Regions from separate parts of the Homo sapiens genome. Here region 2 is linked to region 1. The links are contacts of gene promoters, found by promoter capture Hi-C in human tissues and cell types (Jung and others, 2019). All regions are on one chromosome and are shown on one strand. The core of a region is centred on a gene start or on the middle of the fragment in contact, and the rest is flanking DNA. Distances in the headings are between cores, read along the strand shown. Region 1 holds the start of TERF2IP (TERF2 interacting protein). Region 2 overlaps RFWD3 (ring finger and WD repeat domain 3).

Region 1 (6,456 bases), core at 2,782-5,281:
CTACATATAATGTCTTATAACATTTGTAAAGACAACCTTTCCAAAACACTGTGCTGGTGTTATCATGCTATAATTCAGTCAGTGGACTGCTAAGATTAGGCTGTCTAGTTCTTCTAGAATTAAGATAAATCTGTTTTCCACTCAACCAGGTGCTCCTCTTAAATCAAATCAATCTTAAGGATAATCCAAAAAGGTCCTAGGGATAGCACTAAGACTAGAAACCAAATTAATCTCAAGAGCACACAAAACTCCAGAAAGACAGAAAAGGGAAATAGCTGGCATTAGAAATTATTTGTTCAAACAAAGGTTTTGTTCTTAGCACTCTTCTAGAATAAGATCCACATGTCATCTCAAGACTCTAAGGAGAGACGATTTGAATTTATTAAAGAGAAAATGAGAAAGGACTATTGGTTTTGGTATTAGGGCTCCTTGTTTCCTTAGCAACAAGTCCAAAGACTTAGCCAGAGGCTTAACGGAAAATGAACCAAGTAAGGAAATAATTTTTGCTTCCAGAGCAATAAAGAAGGTAATGGGCACCAACCTTCTTTGATCAGAAAATGACTTGTCCTTGTGAGGCGCTGTGAAAGGAGCAAGTTGACCCAGTCGCAGTTCCCTGTGACCCCACTCTGCCCAGGAGGTTTTGCGCAGGGACCCCCTAACAAGCCTTACAGCAGCTTGCGTCAACATGGCAGAGCACCCTGGAACTAATGATTACCACCACCTAGCGGGAAACACAGAGATGTGGTGTCAGATGGGACAGACAGTATACATATACCCAACCAACTCTCTTATGGGTTGGGGAGGGGGACCATGCTTCTACTACCTTTTAGTCCCATTTAACTTAAGACTGTCTTAACTGATAGCAACCCTGTAACACTCTCTGTGCTACAACTGTAACTGACAATGTTCTTAGTCCTGACTATGGAAAAAACATGCATATCTGGGGTAAAGCCAACAGCAAGTTAATGGATAGCTTACAGGTAAAATTGCTCACAACATCCTAGAATATGGGAACAGGATGTGAGGCACTTTCTGAAGCCCTGAAGTGTGGTTTCTCACCTGGAGAGGAAATACCTGGCCACAAGATGGCAATAGGAAGCATATAAAATAAGAGGAAACTGTCACTATCAATTGCAAACTCTAGACAAAGATAAATGCAAGCCACACAAAAATACGTGTCAAAGAGAAGACTTGTTTGGAACTCTAGGAACAAGGGGAAAGGAGAATTTCAGGAAGGTCCTTAGACTGCGTTATGTTTATACATTATCAACACTGGAAGGCAACAGAATTACAGAGATCACCTTCTTTACCGTGTTCAAATAAATTTGAGGAGGCTATTTCACTCGGGCAGGGAGCACATCTGCTTTTAAACTTGGAGTCAATACCTGGCACAAAATGGTGCTTACTAAAAATTTCAGACCAAGGAATTCCCCAGAACAATAAACGGAAGGAAATGTTAATCAGAAAAAAATTATTTTAGCTCATGGTAACGAGAGGAATAGACATCAATGACAGGTAAGACAACGTGAGTAGTGCTGTGCAGTCAGGATACAGAGCATGGACTGTGGAGTCACAGGCCTGAGTTCAGATCCGTGCTCCAGTGCTCTGGATCACTGCTAGACTATATTTTAGGAATGCACACTTTAATAGTGCATTTAATTACTAGGACCTCAGTTTATTAATTTGAAAAATGGACAATAACTCCTCTTGCAAGGTTATTACTGACACTAGACAGAAAGCTTGTAGAGATCTAGCATTGTGCCTGGCACAGAAAAGCTGGTCAAAAAAGTAGTAGCTGTATTTAATTTTAGAAAAGTCAGTGAAGCAGGGAGTGGTGGCTCACGCCTATAATCCTAGCGCTTTGTGGGGTTGAGGCGGACGGATCACCTGAGCTCAGCAGTTTGACGCCAGCCTGGGCAACAAGGTCAAATCCCGTCTCTACTAAAACACAAAAATTTAACCGGGTGTTGTGGCATGCACCTGTAGTCCCAGGTACTTGGGAGGCTGAAGCACCAGAATTGCTTGAACCCGGGAGTTGCAAGTTGCCGTGGGCTGAAATCGCACCGCTGCAATCCAGCCGGGGCAACAACGACTCTGCCTCCAAAAAAAAAAAAAAAAAAAAAAAGTCAGTAAAGAGGAATTAACCAGTTTTTTCCGTTTACCTAAAAACACACTCTGAACTGGAAACCGTGCTTTCACCTGTGATATACAGTCCTAAAGTTCAATTCAATGTAATTGATTATCATAGGTGGTTTGAAAGAATGAACTAAACTTTAGGATCGTATATCACAGATATACCACATTCAATTAAATTTGACTTAATAAAGTCAAGTCAATTTTCTCTAAGGTAGCAGTCCAAAGACCAGGTTCCAAACTTTTATGGAAGTCCATCGGATTGCTCTAATAAAGGACAATATATTAAGGTCCTACCCAACTATAAACTTCGACAATTTCTCTTATACTTTTTCTAAGATATTTGAAGCACAAAGCCAGGGACACAAAAGGAAACATCAGGCCAGGGGTGGTGGCTCAGGCTCACGCCTGTCATCCCAGCACTTTGGGAGGCCAAGGTGGGCGGATCACAAGGTAACGAGATTGAGACCATCCTGCCCAACATGGTGAAACCCTGTCTCTACTAAAAATACAAAAATTGGCCAGCCATGGTGGCACACGCCTGTAATCCCAGCTACTCGGGAGGCTGAGGCAGGAGAATCGCTTGAACCCTGGCAGCGAAGGTTGCAGTGAGCTGAGATCGCGCCACTGCACTCCAGCCTGGCGACAGAGCGAGACTCCATCTTAAAAAAAAAAAAAAAGAAACATCATTTCTCTTTTCTTTTTCATTCAGGGTCTGGCTCCGTCTCAGTAACTCCTTGGGGAAAGCGATGGAGAAGGGCTCGCTCACGCAGCACTTCTGGCAGTCCCTGAAGGACCACTACCTCAAGTCTCCCAGGCTGGAGTGCAGTGGCACGACTTCAGCACACTGCAACCTCCGCCTCCTGGGTTAAAGCGATTCTCCTGCCTCAGTCTCCCGAGTAGCTGGGATAACAAGTGCGCGCCACGGGGATTAAGCCCTCTCGTATGCCTCTGGAATGGTACTATGTACCATCTTCCTAGCAATGATAAAACACTCAATTACCTGTGTTCTGTGGTTCAAATGGGGAACGCTAATGAGAATATAAGACAGCCAGTTAAAGGGTGGCTAATCCTGACTTATCTATGTTAACCTACATACTCCAGGGATTTGGGAGTGGTTAACAAAGATATCAGGCTGAATTAAGATGGTCTCTACTGTTAGACGTTGATCACTTAATACTCACAGGTATCTACTGAATAACCCATACGGGTAGATGCATGACAGTTTTAGAACTGATCCCTTTTAATACATAACGTTCAGAATGACCTTAGTGAGGCCCAGAAAATTTTGAAGGTCTTTCTGAAAAGCTAGGGTATTTAACATTTCTCCAACTTCCACGTTTACTGAGTGGCTCAACAAAAGAATGCATTTCTCAGAAAGGAGGATGAAGCTAAGCAGGAAGTTTCGCTTTTCTTTTCTGATAACTCTTAGTTCTCGTCCTAGTTCCTCCTCCACAGTCTCTTAACTCTAGGAGTATGATAGGGAGCATCCCGCCGGTGCCAGCTGGGAACGGGGAGCCGGCGTGCCCGGGGTATCCCGGGGTACGTGGTCTGCAGGGCGCAGCCACCACGTCTCAGCATGTGCGTACCCACGAGAGCCGGCAAGAAGGCCCCGGCACAGCAGCCTTGGTGGGAACCTCGCGGCGCTTCCCAGCCCAGACTCTCCTACCGCAAAGGCTTTAAAGACTCGCAGCGACACTCACTTCTTGCTCAGTTTCGGCTCGCTGCCATCCACTTTCACCTCGGCCGCCTGCACGGCCGCCATCTTCCCGGAGGGCCCGACCCAAAAGTAAGGAGGATAGTACGTTAATTTCCAGGTCAAGGTGCGAAGCCCCACCTCTTCCGGGGGAGAGGGGGCGGGCACTCTCGATGCGCCGCGGCTGCTGCTGCGCAGGCCCAGTGCTGCGCTTCGCGGCAGAGGCGTCTGCGGTGACAGCTCAGTCAGTTGAGCTCTGTGTGCCAGGCGCTCGCGAGGGGGTAGCTCTTCTAGTAGTGCTCGGCGTCAGACATGGCGGAGGCGATGGATTTGGGCAAAGACCCCAACGGGCCCACCCATTCCTCGACTCTGTTCGTGAGGGACGACGGCAGCTCCATGTCCTTCTACGTGCGGCCCAGCCCGGCCAAGCGTCGGCTGTCGACGCTCATCCTGCACGGCGGCGGCACCGTGTGCCGAGTGCAGGAGCCCGGGGCCGTGCTGCTGGCCCAGCCCGGGGAGGCGCTGGCCGAGGCCTCGGGTGATTTCATCTCCACGCAGTACATCCTGGACTGCGTGGAGCGCAACGAGAGGCTGGAGCTGGAGGCCTATCGGCTGGGCCCCGCCTCGGCGGCGGACACCGGCTCGGAAGCAAAGCCCGGGGCCCTGGCCGAGGGCGCCGCGGAGCCGGAGCCGCAGCGGCACGCCGGGCGGATCGCCTTCACGGATGCGGACGACGTAGCCATCCTTACCTACGTGAAGGAAAATGCCCGCTCGCCCAGCTCCGTCACCGGTAACGCCTTGTGGAAAGCGATGGAGAAGAGCTCGCTCACGCAGCACTCGTGGCAGTCCCTGAAGGACCGCTACCTCAAGCACCTGCGGGGCCAGGAGCATAAGTACCTGCTGGGGGACGCGCCGGTGAGCCCCTCCTCCCAGAAGCTCAAGCGGAAGGCGGAGGAGGACCCGGAGGCCGCGGATAGCGGGGGTGAGGAGGCTGAGCGCGGGGCCTCGCGGATATCTGCGCGGGTGGGGTTGGGATCTTTCTCCTGGCTGCCTGGCGTCCATCTTGGCATCTTCGGTAGCAGCGCTTGGCCCCGCCCCCTGTTGACATCCGGGTAAATTTGCACCATTTTCTTGCCTTCTCGCTCCCTTGTTGTTTATTATTGTTCTTTTTTTGCGATGGGTCTCTGTTACCTAAGCTGGTCTGAACTCCTGAGCTCAAGCGATCCTCCTGCCTCGGCCACCCAAAGTGTTGGGATTACAGGAGTGAGCCACCACGTCTGGCCTCTCGTCGTTTTTATTTTTTAATTTTTGAGTGGGGGCTCGCTCCGTCGCCCAGGCTGTGATGCAGCCGCGCGATCACGACCTACTGCATCCTGGACCTCCTGGGCTCAAGCGAATCTCCGGCTTCAGCCTCCCAAGTAGCTGGAACTACACTCCCGCGCCACCACGTCCCGCTAAATTAAAAAAAAAATTGTTGTAGAGATGGGGGTCTCGTTGTGTTGCCCTGACAGGTCTCGAACTCTTGGGCTCAAGCGATCCTCCCGTCTCGGTGTCCCAAAGTGTTGGGATTACAGGCGTGAGCCATCACACCCAGCTTCTTGGTCTAGTTTTAATTTACTTTACCATTGACTAGAATATTGACATGGTTCTATATTCAAAAGTTACAAAAAGTATATAGAAAATTCTCTCTTGGCCGGGCGCGGCGGCTCAAGCTTGTAATCCCAGCACTTTGGGAGGCCGAGGCGGGCGGATCACCTGAGGTAAGGAGATCGAGACGAGCCTGACCAACATGGCGAAATGCCGCCCCTACTAAAAATACAAAAATTAGCCGGCCGTGGCGGAGAGTTCCTGTAGTCCCAGCTACTCAGGAGGCTGAGGCAGGAGAATTGCTTGAACCCGGGGGGCGGAGGTTGCAGTGAGCCGAGACTGCGCCACTGCTCTCCAGCGTGGGTGACAGAGCAAGACTCCATCTCAAAAAAAAAAAAAAATTATCTCGTCCTTCCTGTCCACCAGCTACCCACGGGCTAACTGGCTTCTTGTGTTTCTTTTAAGAGATATTCCACAGACTCCTTTTTAAAAAAGATTGCTGTTATGTTCAGGTAGATTCAGTATAAAGGCGTACCAGACTTACTTTAATGCTCTGGCGTAACTGAATGCCTATGGACTTAAGAAGGTTCTCGGCAGTTGGAAGGTCTCTTCCTGGTCTTGCTTAGGTGAAGTGAGTTTTTAATGCAGTTGAATTGAAAATTGGGGTTCAGTATGTCTAGGATACAGAACGAGTCTGTTAAGATGTACTTGGTGACGTACCTGGCATTGATAACTTAAACCGATAGACCCTTTTGTTTAAAGAGGCATGCTGCTTCTCCTCCCCCTCCGTAATCCTCCCACCTTTTCTTTGCCTGTATGACTACTCCATTTAACACTTGAAGTCTGGGGAGTAAAATCTTTTTCTCCTGTTCAGTATGCTTAGTAGGAATTTTGTTTTGGTAAAAGTGACATTTCAGCTTCATTCATTCAGCAGAAATTTGAGTGCCAGACATTGTGGTCCTGCTGGAATATAACAATAAATAAAAGTCCCTGTGGTCCTGGAGCTTATAACATGCTAGCTGGGGAGTGGTAAGGGCTAT
Region 2 (7,107 bases), core at 2,375-4,874, 990 kb before region 1:
GTGCTAAGCAAGTTTACCAACTCCATTTCTTGAGATTCTAAGTGAACAGCAGCTATAGCTACCATGAGACTAAACACATAAGAAAAGCATTTCATAAGAAGATTTAATCAAATACATACTAGAGTTAGGGTGTTGACACGTATATCAATAGAATTCTACATAGAACCCAGTAAAAAAGTGATAGACGATTAAAAAAAATCACTCTTTAATATTGCTTTTATGTAGCAAAGAATTTCCAAAGTCAGGCAAGAACACAGGAAAGGGGAACTGTGAAAACCAACAGGAAGCAGTGCTAGGGTTTCTCTTTGGGAGCACAGATTTAGAACCCAAGAAATTCTCCTCCTTCCCTGCACTTACCAACTTTGAATTTTGCTCCTTCCCTACTCTCTGTAGTCCTAGACTCCGTATGCTCCAGGAAAACAATATTGTGATCTGTGTTATTCACCAATATATCTAGGGCAAAGTTTAGTCTCTCACACAGAGGAGTGTTATCAATATTTGATGAATGAGTGATGACCCCCACTGCCAGAATGAAACCGCCCCAAACAAATCAGAAAGGAGTTTGTGACCTCAGCTAAGCCTGTTGGGAAGAATAAGCTCACTACTTAGCTTTCCATAGCTTTGGCTTCTTGGCTGACTGTGAGTCAAAAGCTGTTCACCTTGGCCCAGGCTTTCAACACCTGGCCCAGGGACAGTCTGTCAGATGAGTAAATGTCAAACACCACACTGAGAAATTCATCTCAAGAAATTCAGAAGTTATAAGCGATTAGTCCTGGGAAAGGTCATACTTCAGGGAAAAAAGTTTTAATCACATTTACCTGGCTCCAGAACTGATGTAATTTCCACTGAACTGCACACTTCCTGACCGTTTAGGTTATTCCCTTTGTGGAGACAGATTATGGCTGCCAAATAGCTTGACTGACATCTTTCAACATTTAAATTCTGTATAACTCATTCCCTGAGCAGATTCTATAATTTTTTTTTTTTTTTTTTGAGACAGAGAGTCACTCTTGTCACCCAGGCTGGATTACAGTGACAAGATCTTGGCTCACTGCAAGCTCCGCCTCCTAGGTTCAAGGAATTCTCATGCCTTAACCTCCCAAGTAGCTGGGACCACAGGTGTGTGCCACCACGCCCGGCTAATTTTTTGTATTTTTAGTAGAGATGGGGTTTCACCATGTTGGCCTCGAACTCCTGGCCTAAAGGGATCCGCCTGCCTTGGCCGCTCAAAGTTCTGAGATTACAGGCGTGAGCCACTATGCCCAGCCACATCAAGCAATTTTCTCACTAGAGTTTGGCTTCTGTTTGGCTCTCTAGTGGTTCTGTTTTTCTTTGTAAGTTGGCATCTGGTTTATAAGTGTCACCCTTAAGTTGGTTAATACAAGTCACTGTGCTTGACCAAGAGGAATCCACTCTGCGTCCCCCAACAAGAATGAGTGCATGGATAAGCAAGACTGAGGACTTGCAAGAGGCCTCCTGACAGTCAGCCAGCTCCTGGAAACACCACTCACAACTCTCAACCATGGAAAGTTAGCCCATTTACTTTGGGAGGGTCCCCAAATTACACCATAAGGTGCCTTCACCTATAACACAAATGTATGAAATCTTACCCTGCCTTTATAACGTGAGTAATGACATCTTAAAACAACAGACTATAGCCAAGCCTGCTGGTGCACGCCTGCAATCCCAGCTACTTAGGAGGCTGAGGCACAAGAATCGCTTGAACCCGGGAGCCAGAGGTCCTGGTGAGCTGATACTGCGCCACTGCACTCCAGCCTGAGTGACAGAGCAAGACTCTTGTCTTAAAAACAAAAAAAAAACCCAGAGTAATATGCATTTGCAACTCTTGTCAACACAGAACTAGGCATCTGTCATCCTTGATGGGCACTACAGACACTGGAGCCACAGTCATGGCAAGCCCCAACATTAAAATCAGCAGGATCCATGAAAAAGAATGCTGAATCCAGATACAGAAGGCACAATTCCAATTCCAGCCTTATCACAACCAAATCACAAATTATCCCATCAGCTTCCTCATTTGTAAAACATGGGTAATAGATGACCTAGCTACCACTTTTTAGTATCATCTCAATATTTTCACAGTGTTAGAAAACATCGGCATGGTTGCGTATGCCTGTAGTCCCAGTTAATCATCAAGAGGCTGAGGTAGGAAGATCGCCTAAGCCTGGGGAGGTCGAGGCTGCAGTGAGCTGTGATTGCACCACTGCACTCCAGCCTGGGGAGCACAGTGAGACCCTGTCTCAAAAATAACAATAATAAAAACAAGAAGAAAGAGAAAACAAAGGGATTTCGTCGAAGCTTCCTCCATCTGCCTATGTAGAAAACAGGGCAGATCCAGGCTCCAATATCAGTGCTAACTCCTCTATTCTATAGTTATGAGACCCTGAACAAAGCCCTCTCTGAGCGGAGATCGCACCACTGCGCTCCAGCCTGGGCGACAGAGTGAGACTCCATCTCAAAACAAAACAAAACCAAAAACAGACAGGTTTAATTAGTTAGGTGTGGTGGCACGCGCCTGTAATGCCAGGTACTGGGGAAGCTGAGGCAGGAGAATCGCTTGAATCTGGGAGATGGAGGTTGCAGTGAGCAAAGATTGTGCCACGGGAATCCAGCCTGGACGACAGAGTGAGACGCTGTCTCAAAAACAAAAACAAAAAACCAAAAAACGGACAGGGTATAGGCAATTGTTATTCTTCATAATAACCCTGTCAAGACTTGACAGCTAAGCCCTTCAAGAGGCAAGTTCAAACCAAGACTATGAAAGAAAATTAATTAATTGTGCCCCCAGGTGGAATGCCAGTGAATAATGAATTTGGGTGAGTAGAGACTTGCAAGTGAAGAAAGAATTTTTGGTGTACAAGACACAATCTGAACAACAGCCAATCTCTACAGAGATTGCCAACAAACTACCACCTAGTTTTCAAGGCACAACAGTTTAACTTATCCCTTCATTACTTTGTGAAGTAAGGCAAGCACTTTTATTTCCACCTATGAGGAACTGGGGGTCAGAAGTTACCTGACTTGCCAAAAGTCACACTGTCAGTCCTTGAATGGCAGAGCCTCAGTTTCATAATTTCTAGTACAGCAATGATCACAGACTTATCCATATATTTATTTACCTGGCACTGTCTGTCCTCTGAGACCCTCCGGCTCTTGCCCTCCGTGAAGCAGATACCCTCCTTCTTGTTCTCATTGGCCCTACACTGTGGTTTGAAGATGAAGGTCTCAGGAATTCCAGCATGCCATGAAGTCTCTGCAGTCCGCTGATGAAGTTGGTCATTGAATGCAACGAAGATGCTGGGATGGTGTGATTACCATCAGATCCCTGCCTATGTTGTTCTGAAGTTCTTGGATTGATGTTCTCCACAGTGTCTTCTCCCAAGACCTCCACTTCTGTCAGGTCAACAGACAGTTGCGGAGCAGGCTGGAGCAGGGGTGGTGTCGCTTGGCTGCTGATCACCTCAGCAGGAGCTGGCTGGAGGATGGATGGTACCCCCTGGCTGCTGACCACATCAGCAGGAACAGGCTGGAGGAGGGCTGGTCCCCCTTGGCTGCTGGCCATGCCAGCAGGAGCTGGCTGTTGTTCGGCATGATTTAACTGCACCTGAACATCATATTCCATTGCTTCATGAGCCATCACTAGAGAAACAGTATTTGTAAAAAGTATTAATAAAATAGATAAAACATGCTATGTAGGTGACAGAATCATATTTAATCTTTCTGATTTTATGTTTAATATCATTCTTAGCAAGACTGAGAAGCTTCAAGAGAAGATTTTAACTACTTAAGTCAGAAGTGTTTGGTAATGGACTTTCCTCTCTATAACAAGCATTTATAACCAGTTTTCCGGTTTGCCCTTAGAAAACATGAAGTCCTGTGATCATAGTAGTATCTTCCAAAATAGAAAGATCTATAAACCAAGGAGATTAAACTACTGGGTCTAAAAGTAATCTCTCAGACACTTTGCAGTTCTCTCAAGCTGAATATGGACATTCACCAAAATCAAATGCATATAATGCAGTATCTAATTTTAGCAGGCAATATTAATCTTTCACAGCATCAACAGTTACAAGGGATAAATAGAGAAAGGACATTTTTTACACTTGCAAAATTAACTGTTACTAACTCAAAATGGAAACTTACCTAATGTTTCCAAAAAGGCTGAGCAAACTTTATCCTATCCCTTTCATTATTTTTGTTTTCCATCTCTAATTCCATCATGTTAGCGTATTCAACAAATATTTATTAAGCACCTATGTTCTTTTCATGTTTCCTATCTTTAATTCCATTGTATCAGTTTGAAAACTACCACCTAGTTTTTAAACTAAAAAAAAAAATTTTTTTTTGTTATATAGATGAAGGCTTCCTATGTTGCCCAAACTGGTCTTGAATGCCTGGCCTTACCTCCTCATGCATCAGGACAACAGGACTGAGCCACTGTGCCTCCCTACCACCTAGTTTTTAAAGTACATCAGTATAACTTATCCCCTTAATTACTTTGTGAAGTAAGGCACGTGCTTTTATTTTCATCTGACTTATGAGGAAATGGGGGTTCAACTAATAGTTATTAAGCACCTGTTATGCAGACAAGACACCCTAGAGGCAAAAACAGATAAGACCCCATGTATCAGAGTTTAGATTCTAGCAAGTAAGATGTCAATAAACAAATACATGAAAAAAATTATAGATTATGATGTTTGGGGTTGAGGAGACAAAGAGGACCAACTAAGACACAATTGTGAGGGAAGTACTCTTTTAAAGAGTGAAAATTGGGCTGAGGCATGAAGGATTAAAAGCAGCTGGCTATGCAAAGAGCCAAGAAGAGTCTCAGAAGGAAATCAGTGCATAGGTCCCTGATGAGCATGGGTTTCACTGATGAACAGGACACCATTATTAAAGGGCCTATGGGCCTTGGTAAGGAGTTTCTTCTATGTTAGGAATGCACTGTAGGGGTGCAAGAGCATAAGCTAGGTGACCAGTGTAGAGGCTATTGTGGGAGTCCAGACCAGAGGTCAGAGAGACCTAGGCAAGAGTGGTAGCAGTGGAGATGAAAACAAACAGACAGCTTTAAGAATCTTCAGAATGGTCATGCTTCTTTTTTTTTTTTTTTGAGATGGAGTCTCGCTCTGTTGCCCAGGCTGGAGTGCAGTGGCGCGATCTCGGCTCACTGCAAGCTCCGCCTCCCGGGTTCACGCCATTCTCCTGCCTCAGCCTCCCGAGTAGCTGGGATTACAGGTGCCTGCCACCACGCCTGGCTAATTTTTTGTATTTTTAGTACAGCCGGGGTTTCACTGTGTTAGCCAGGATGGTCTCGATCCCCTGACCTGGTGATCTGCCAGCCTCAGCCTCCCAAAGTGCTCGGATTATAGGCATGAGCCACCGCGCCCGGCCAATACTCATGTTTCTTAAAATCATCAAAGCAGATTAAACCACCTGAGGAACAGAATGACAGAAGAGGGCTGAAGACTAAAGTCAGAGACACTACTGTTAAAAGTACAACAGAGTAAAAGAAGCCAGTTAAGGAAGATTATAAAGTAGGAGGAAACATGGGAATGTGGTGTCTTGGAAAAACAATGTTTCAAGGAAGGAACAATTGAGTGTCAAGTGCTACTGGGGGGAAGAACGGCCGCTAGATTTGGCAACATGAGGATGACAGGTGACCTAAAAAAGCAGTTTCCCTGAAGTGGTGGGGTCAGAGGCCAGACTGGTGCAGGCTGAATAAATGGAAGGAATTCTAATAAACATAGTGGACGAAGTACATATATGTATCTTTCTCTCTCCACTCCAGTCATTCCTAAAACCCACGAACATGACCCCCACAACCTGAGACATTTTTTTAAGAAAGGATAAATTAACCAGGACGACACAAATGCAAACAGGGTATGATATGCAAACCAGTTTTTTAAGGCCATAAAGGAGAAACTGATGATTGATGACTGCTTAGCAGAGCCAAAAGATAAAACTCAAAGCCTGCAAAGGGCACAGTGGTTGGGGTGAGGTGTGTTATTGAGAAGCAAGCTGATTCCCACTAAAGGGACTGTAAAAACCAGGTACCACAAAAGGCAATATTGAAAGATGGCGCTAAAAGAGAAGGGCTGGTTAAAAGCCAGTAAAGCAGTTAGCTTGACTCCTACTCAAACACCAGCCAGCTAAAACAAAACACAGAACAAAGCCCTTCTCCCCCTATGCACGAGAAAACTGGAGGTTTGAACCACACAGGCTTACACTCAGGATGGAGAGTGGCACAGTACTGAAAATAAGTGGGAAAGAAAGTCTGCAAACTGAACAATGTGAGATACTTCAAGTTTTAAACATTTTTTGTATAGATGGGGTTTCCCACGTTGCCTAGGCTGGTCTTCAACTCCTCGGCTCAAGCAACCCTTCTGCCTCAGCCTCCCAAAGTGCTGGGATTACAGGAGTGAGCTACTGCAGCTGCCTAACTAAAAGCTTTTAATGTTTCTAGGGTACAACGACAGTCTCCCAAGAATTGTGTGTCAGAACATAAGGCCCAAGCTACTTCTAGATGTACTCAAGAGACATTAAGCAACTCAGCCTTCAGGAAGACAAAGGGGAGAAATGGACTAAAAAGAGCAGAATCTAGGGGGCCGCACTGTCTACTCCCATATGGTTATTTAAATTAAATAAAAATCAAATTCGGCCAGGAGCTGTGGCCCACGCCTATAATCCCAGCACTTTGGGAGACTGAGGCAGGTAGCTGGAGACCAGGAGTTGGAGACCAGCCTGGGCAACACGGCAAAACCCCGTCTCTACAAAAAATACAAAAAAATTAGCCAGCCGTGATGGTGTGCACCTGTGGTCCTAGCTACTTGGGAGGCTGAGGCAGGAGAACCCCTTGAACCCGGAGAGTGGAGGTTACATTGAGCCGAGATCACGCCACTGCACTCCAGACCGGGAGAGAGAGTAAGACTCCGTCTAAAAAAAGAAAAAAGAAAGAAATAAAATAAGTTCCTTTGTCGTGCAGGTCACATTTCAACTGCTAGAAACACACATAGGGCGGGTGACTCCCATACTGGACAGCAGAAATACAGAACACTTTTCTCGTCGCACAAAGTTCTATGGAACGGT

What was found. The method cuts DNA at HindIII sites, captures the fragments that hold promoters and counts their contacts. A contact is called where the count stands out against the background at its distance.
Region 2: a fragment that was not itself captured here is called in contact with the fragment with the promoter of TERF2IP in region 1 in 1 of the 25 tissues and cell types used here (dorsolateral prefrontal cortex).

Annotation. Positions count from the first base shown.
Region 1 is chr16:75,643,742-75,650,197 of GRCh38, forward strand. TERF2IP (TERF2 interacting protein) reads left to right here and starts at 4,032. Exons shown (of 3, transcript NM_018975.4): 1 at 4,032-4,811. The coding sequence starts at 4,142. KARS1 (lysyl-tRNA synthetase 1) reads right to left here and starts at 3,924. Exons shown (of 14, transcript NM_005548.3): 1 at 3,837-3,924. The coding sequence starts at 3,898. RefSeq lists enhancers at 3,777-3,956, 3,996-4,953, 4,887-5,156, 4,954-5,909 and a silencer at 4,457-4,576. The HindIII fragment of the contact is 7,104 bases long and covers 1-6,456 here.
Region 2 is chr16:74,657,792-74,664,898 of GRCh38, forward strand. RFWD3 (ring finger and WD repeat domain 3) reads right to left here. Exons shown (of 13, transcript NM_018124.4): 2 at 3,141-3,660. The coding sequence starts at 3,658. Among named protein-coding and RNA genes, the nearest start is that of RFWD3, 5.5 kb to the right of the region's middle. The HindIII fragment of the contact is 6,343 bases long and covers 454-6,796 here.